Regions from separate parts of the Homo sapiens genome. Here region 2 is linked to region 1. Evidence: promoter capture Hi-C in 16 types of primary human blood cells and fetal thymus (Javierre and others, 2016). All regions are on one chromosome and are shown on one strand. The core of a region is centred on a gene start or on the middle of the fragment in contact, and the rest is flanking DNA. Distances in the headings are between cores, read along the strand shown.

Region 1 (3,477 bases), core at 20-2,519:
ATTTTTTGTATTTTTTAGTAGAGATGGGGTTTCACCGTGTTAGCCAGGGTGGTCTCAATCTCCTGACCTTGTGATCCGCCCGCCTCGGCCTCCCAAAGTGCTGGGATTACAGGCATGAGCCACAGTGTTTGGCCTGGGCTTAGGCTCTTCGGAGCACCCAAGCAACATAGCCTAACTGGGAGAAGAGAAGGAGCCTGTTTCCTGGAAATTGAGGCCTAAGTCAGAGAGGGCCGAAGTCACAGTCTGCCAGGATGTTCCTTGGTCATCTGTCCTGTCCCTTGCAAATTCCTAACCAGCAGGCACCAAGGCCACACCTTGCCCACAGGACTTAACCTGGTACCACCAGCGGGAAACCAGCCCTGCTGAAGGAGGGAGAGCACAGCCTAAGCAAGACAAGGGTACAGACTGAAAGGCAATGCCTTTGGAGTGCCCAGCCCAAGCCCTGAGATCCAGCAGGAACCTCCTCTTAATTGTTTTGCGCGGGGAGGGAGATGATAGTTACTCGTCCAAGTTCACTCAGTGATGGTGCAGTTCGTGGCAGCGTTGGAATACTACTTTGGTTTGTATCATTCCAAACCCTGCTGTCTCCACGAAGTCACCTTCCTTGGAGAAGAAGGGGGAAATGAAGAAGAGGAAAGATATGAGGAAAGAGGAGCAGAGAGAAAGAGAAATGAGTCTTTTAAAGTGGCAGAGGAAGGAGAATGGTAAACAGCAGGAGCGAAGCGGCTGAGGAGAAAGAAGAGGAAAGAAAGGCGAGACGTGGGAGGATTGGAACAGAGACAAAAGGGAGGAGAGACGGACAGCGACAAGTGGAGAAAATCGGCGAAACTTGAGTGGCAGAGAAGTCTGAGCGCTGAGACCCGGCGGCCCCGTGCGCCTTCCCACCTGGCGCCGATCCACTTTCCTCGGGGTAGCGGCCCAACCCACTTCGCTGCCAGCCGATCCCTTTTACCCGTGGCTACCGGGACCACTCTACTCTCGCCCACTTGGCTCTGCCTAAGCGTCCTAGCCGGAGCGCGGTCTCTGCCACGTGGGGAGGGGCGCGGCCGAGTTGCTGAAGAGCGCTTCTGATTGGCCAGAGGGCGGGGTTCTTGGCGTCTCGCCGGCCAGACCCCTCCCTCAAAGGCGGGGCCTGGAGATCCACAGCTGGAAAGGGCGGAGCCCCAGCAGGGCAGCTGGAAAGGGGCGGGGCCTGACGCGCGCGGCTCGCCGCGGCGGGCTGGGGGCGCCCTGGTCTGCCATAAAGTGAATGGGCGCCGGCTGGGGGTGGCAGTACGCGGTGAGGCTCACTCCCTCCGAGAGTCCAGGAGCGCCCGAGCGGAGAGGCGGCCCGGGAGCAGGGGGGCGGCCCCCACTCCGGCCGGGTGCCCGGCCCCTGGCCCCTGCCTGCCCTCTAGATCGCCGCCGCAGCCGCCGCTACTGGGAGTCTGCCTGTTGCAGGACGCACTGTGAGTGTTTGACCATTCTAAGGACAGGGGCTCATGGGGCCGAGGAGCTATTGCTGGACCTTGGAATCCCTAAAACGAGACCTGGGGCAGCTGAACTCCGGTGCCTTGGGAACAGGTCGAGAATGGGAGGGCGGACTGCAGACCTGGGGCCAGGACTTGGGAAAAGGGAAACTCAGGGTAAGAACCAGGGGATAGGGAAGGGGGAGACTCAGAGGATCCGGAACGAAGCCGGAGACTTGAAACCAGGATAGGGGCTTCGCGAGGCAGGGAGTAGGGAGTCTGGAAACCATTACCAGAAAGCGCCCTGGAATCCCAGGGCACGGGGCAGGCGGCCAGGGAGCGAAAGGGGTTACAGAGGCCCTGGCCAGCGGGGGAGCTGGCGGGGCGGCCCCCAGTGTGGGGGCAGTTGACGGCGCCCGATGCCCCTCGGCCTAGGCTCAGACTCCTGGGGCTGGGAGCCGGGGTGCGCCTGGTCGCACACGCTTCTCTTCCCAGCTGCTCCGCAGTTGGAATAGGAGCTGTGTTGTGAGAGCCCGGCCGCGACTGAGTCAGATGGCCGCTGTGCGGATCAGAGTGACCAGGCGGCGGGTATAGTGGATCTGGCTTGGGGTGTCTGGGCCCAGAAGGGTCCTGACTTGAGGCCGCCTCAGAATCGGACAGAATGTCCGCGGTGCATGGGGCTCGGAGCGGACAGAATGTCCGGGTAGCGAAGTGGGTCTCTCCGGAGCGGGAGTTGTGTCTGGCAGTGGCGGACAGAATGTCCCTGGCTGGGTGGCATGTCCGTCTACCCAGCAGCGCCTGCCCAGCTGCTGCGTGTGCGATGGGGTCGGCTGCGGTGGGTCACCTCAAATCCCAGCTCACACTTTGCAAACTTGTTTCAGCTCCTTCGGGCTGCGAAGCTGTGAGCAGGGAGCGAGAGTAAAGGCTACAACCTGGCCTTGGGGTGAGGTGGGCTGGGACACATGCCCCCTTCAATTCAGAATAGATCAGAGCATCACTCTGTACTTCCAGAATCCAAATTTGAGGACAGAAGGCCAATGAGGAGCCTGCTAGTGGGAATCAAGACCAGGAAAGGAAGGAATAGGTGACAAAAGGCAATGGGAAAACAGGAAGGAGCTGGGTACAAGCCCCTGGCAGCCTCAGTTGCCCCCTAATTCCAATACAATTAACCAGACACCCCCCAGACTCCTTGCTGGAGTATCAGGCGACCAATGGCTCCTTCCCTACAGTGGGCAGGAGCCCAGGCCAGAAGAGAAAACTACAGCCCCATTAGCAAAGCAAATCCTGTGGTCCTGTTTCCCTTTTTCTTCCTCAGCCCTACCAGTCCCAACACCACCCTGGTGGCTGAGCGGAGGTGGGAAGGAGGCTCATGGAATCCAGACTCTGGAGTCCAACAGGGGGCTATCTGGCCCTCTCAGTCTGGTTGGGAAGGATATCTTGGCCCTACCTAACAGCCGGGTTTACTTTCCCTGCAGCTGGGATACAGCCCTGACTCTGCTGGGCCCATACAGTGACCATCCACCCTGACCCCAATTCTAACCACAGCTCAATTATGCTGAAGAGGACAGAACAGGGAGAACGAGTCCATATAAGTGAGCAAGATAGCCCAGCTGGGGACTGAGTTTTCACAAGGACAAGTGCAAGGCATTGTATTTAGCAATGAGTAATCTAAACAGTGGTTTCAACCTTTCTTACCCTTCACCTGTGAGTGACATACAATACGTATTCCCCATACTCCCATGTCCATTCCTCAGTTCTAAAGTTTGCTTATTACTGGCTAGGATTCTCAACTTTTGTTTTTCATTTGCCCTATTTTGATCAATATAAAGACACACCACAATTATCCCCATCACATTCTGATACACTTTTCAGGGGCTTGTGCTCCCATTGCTGTGCTCCCATAAAATCACTGAAATTATAGGTGAAATGAAGGACTCTGTGTCAGGAAAGGAACAGGGAAAGCATTACAGATGGTTCCCTGAAGACTTTAGCTCAAAGTTGGCTTTTGCCAAAAAGGCCAAAGAGGTGG
Region 2 (3,500 bases), core at 407-2,906, 73 kb after region 1:
GGGGAACATTAATCTTCTACAAGCCATGTTGCCTGCCACTGGCTTTCAGGTATCAGGTAACCTCTCATGGATAACCAGTACAGACCAGAGACCAGAAAACCTCCCTTCTCGGCCGGGCGCGGTGCCTCACGCCTGTAATCCCAGCACTTTGGGAGACCGAGGCGGGCAGATCATGAGGTCAGGAGATGGAGAGCACGGTGAAACCCCGTCTCTACTAAAAAATACAAAAAAATTAGCTGGGCGCCGTAGCGGGCGCCTGTAGTCCCAGCTACTCGGGAGGCTGAGGCAGGAGAATGGCGTGAACCCAGGAGGCAGAGCTTGCAGTGAGCCGAGATGGCACCACAGCACTCCAGCCTGGGCGACAGAGCGAGACTCTGTCTCAAAACAAACAAACAAACAAACAAACAAAAAACCCCTTCTCTAATTTCCAAAACTAAAGAGCCTCAGATGAGGGCCTGTGTCTTATTCATCTGTGTATCCAAAGGCTCACAGTGGGCTCTTCAAGGTGTTTTTTTTTTTTTTTGAGACGGAGTCTCGCTCTGTCGCCCAGGCTGGAGTGCAGTGGCGCTATCTCGGCTCACTGCAAGCTCCGCCTCCCGGGCTCACGCCATTCTCCTGCCTCAGCCTCCCGAGTAGCTGGGACTATATAGGCGCCCGCCACGGCGCCCCGCTAATTTTTTGTATTTTTAGTAGAGACGGGGTTTCACTGTGTTAACCAGGTTGGTCTCGATCGGCTGACCTCGTGATCCGCCCGCCTCCGCCTCCCAAAGTGCTGGGATTACAGGCGTGAGCCACTGCGCCCGGCTCTTCAAGTTTGTTGAATAGCACTGGAGTAAGTAAGGAGTTAAGCTTCTATTTAAGTCCAGCCCAGCTCCCTAAACAGGGGGGCAACATCGCCACCTACTGGCCCCATCGGTAACTGCAGACAGGCTCTGCAGGAGGGATTTGAGAACTTCGTGGTCCGGCAGAAATAGTGCTTTCACCGCAACCGGATTAGTGCCAGGAGTATTGTATTAGACTATCAAATCTCCTAACATACTCAGGTGGACAAAATAAAGTACTAATTCCTAACTTAGGTACAAAAGGCCATTGACATTGAACTCTCAGTGAAATTTCGCAGTATCTTGCCCCCACCTCCCGCACACCTCTGCTTGACCCATTCTAACAGCCCTCTTCTCCCACTGGAAAAGGCACTCTTCCTTACACGGTATGCACTTTTCTCGCTCCTGGCAAACTGCAGCTGTCTTCAGAATCCTAGGCCACCATCAGCCAAGTCTTTTCTTCTTCTTCTTCTTCTTTTTTTTTTTTTTTTTTTTTGAGACAGAGTTTCACTTTGTTGCCCAGGCTGGAGTGCAGTGGCACGATCTTGGCTCACTGCAACCTCCGCCTTCCGGTTTCAAGCGATTCTCCTGTCTCAGTTTCCTGAGTAGCTGGGATTACAGGCGCCTGCCACCACACCTGGCTAATTTTTTGTATTTTTAGTAGAGACGAGGTTTCACTATGTTGACCAGGCTGGTCTCGAACTCCTGACCTCGTGATCTGCCTGCCTCGGCCTCCCAAAGTGCTGGGATTACAGGTGTGAGCCACCACACCGGGCCAAGCCAAGTATTTTCTTGCTTGTACCCTTAGGGGTGCTACTCTGACCTTCAGTTTGGGACAGAACTCAGCTCAGTGCACAGAAACCATTCCCATGCCTGACTTTCCCCATTAGACACTGAGCTCTCTGGGAGTTCTATGACGAGTACATAGCAGGTTCACAAAGACTATTGAATACAGGTAGCTCCATGTTTGGACATACAGAGACCTGTGTTCTTGTCTCAATGTGCCACTAAGTTGCAGTTTCATCAACCCTAAGTAAATCATTTGATACTCAGGGCTGTTTCCGTAGTGGTTTTCAACTAGGGGCAATTTTCCTTCCCAGAAAATATTTGGCAATGCCTGGAGCCGTTTTTGGTTGTCACAACTAGGGGAAACTATTGGCATGCAGTGTTAGAGGCCAGGGACGCTGCCACACATCCTACAACACACAGGACAGTCCTCAAAAGCAAAGACTTACCTGGCCCCAAATGGAATGATCTACTCGATACCCACCTAACAGGGTTGCAGTAAGGCTACACCGGGCGAAGGGCAAGCCCCCAACAGGGCATTAGGAAGTCTCCTGCCTGTGTCCATGAAGCATGATGCAGAGGGGCATGAGCCATGTGTCTGGTTGACTGAATTTGCGGATTTCAGTGCCAGAGCCCATCAGCAAGGGGTAGGAATTCCAGATTCTTCACAAAACTAAGAAGTTTCTAATAGGACCAATTCCACATATCCATTTTTGTATCAGGAATAAAGATGATAAACGTGAAACAACAAAAAACCATTGCAGGGAAATAATCATTAACATATGCTTGATGCCTTTGCCAAAATGGCATGTTGCACATCACAAGGAAACCAAAGAACATCATTTCCAAAGCTTTTTTTGTTGAGCAAGAGGCAGTTATGGAGTGCTTATAATATGCCAGGGACTGTACTAAGTGCTTTAAATTCTCAGTCCTTACAACAAGCCTCTGAGAGAGTCAAGAATCTACAAATGAGTTGAGATAGTATTCTCTCTTTTTTTGAGACAGAGCCTTGCTCTGTCACCCAGCCTGGAGTGCAGTGGTGCGATCTCAGCTCACTGCAAGTAGCCAGGATAGTCTCGATCTCCTGACCTCGTGATCCACCCGCCTTGGACTCCCAAAGTGCTGGGATTACAGGCCCAGCCAGTATTCTCATTTTACATCAGAAGGTACACTCTGGGCTGGGCACAGTGGCTCACGCCTGTAATCCCAGCACTTTGGGAGGCTGAGGTGGGAGGATTGTTTGAGAGTAGCCTGGGCAACACAGGGAGACCCTGTCTCTACAAAACAAAATTAAAAACAAAAACAAAAACAAAACAAACAAAAAAACAACTAGCCAAGCCTAGTGACTACTGTAGTCCCAGCTACTCAGGAGGCTGAGGTGGGAGGATCTCAGCTACTCAGGGGGCTGAGATCAGAGTATCTGCTTGAGCCCCAGAGGCTGAGGCTGCAGTGAGCGGTGATCGTAATCGCACCACTGCACTCCAGCCTGTGCAACAGAGCAAGACCCTGTCTCAAAAACAAACAAACAAACAAACAAACGCAGACTCAGGTTAACCTTCCTAATGAATACTGTTAGGCAATTTGCTAAACCGCCTCATTTGTGTAACACACTAGCTGCAAAACGTAGCAGACTCAGCTTTGCAAGGCCTAAGAGGAAATGAGTTCTGTCGGAAAAAAGCAAACAAGACTGAGAAGGGTTATACAATACAGAAGAAAAGTCATGATTTAAACAATAAACAGCAACCTCACAAATTATTTATGTTTTAAGGAGAATAAATTAATGGATGTATGTCATATTCAACTTAAAAATGAAAACGGGCTGGGCGCGGTGGCTCCCGTCTGTAATCCCAACACTTGTGGGAGGCCAAGGCAGGCAGATAGCTTGAGCTCAGT

The links. Contacts are between HindIII fragments. The CHiCAGO score rates a contact against its expected background, and 5 or more counts as called.
Region 2: a contact is called between a fragment that was not itself captured here and the fragment with the promoter of PITX3 in region 1, in 1 of 17 cell types (megakaryocytes). The highest score is 5.3, in megakaryocytes.

What each region holds. Positions count from the first base shown.
Region 1 is chr10:102,239,304-102,242,780 of GRCh38, reverse strand. PITX3 (paired like homeodomain 3) reads left to right here and starts at 1,269. Exons shown (of 4, transcript NM_005029.4): 1 at 1,269-1,448. It also overlaps a transcript of GBF1 not described here. RefSeq lists a silencer at 1,118-1,407. The HindIII fragment of the contact is 9,988 bases long and covers 1-3,477 here.
Region 2 is chr10:102,167,001-102,170,500 of GRCh38, reverse strand. No RefSeq gene overlaps it. Among named protein-coding and RNA genes, the nearest start is that of NOLC1, 16 kb to the right of the region's middle. The HindIII fragment of the contact is 1,609 bases long and covers 852-2,460 here.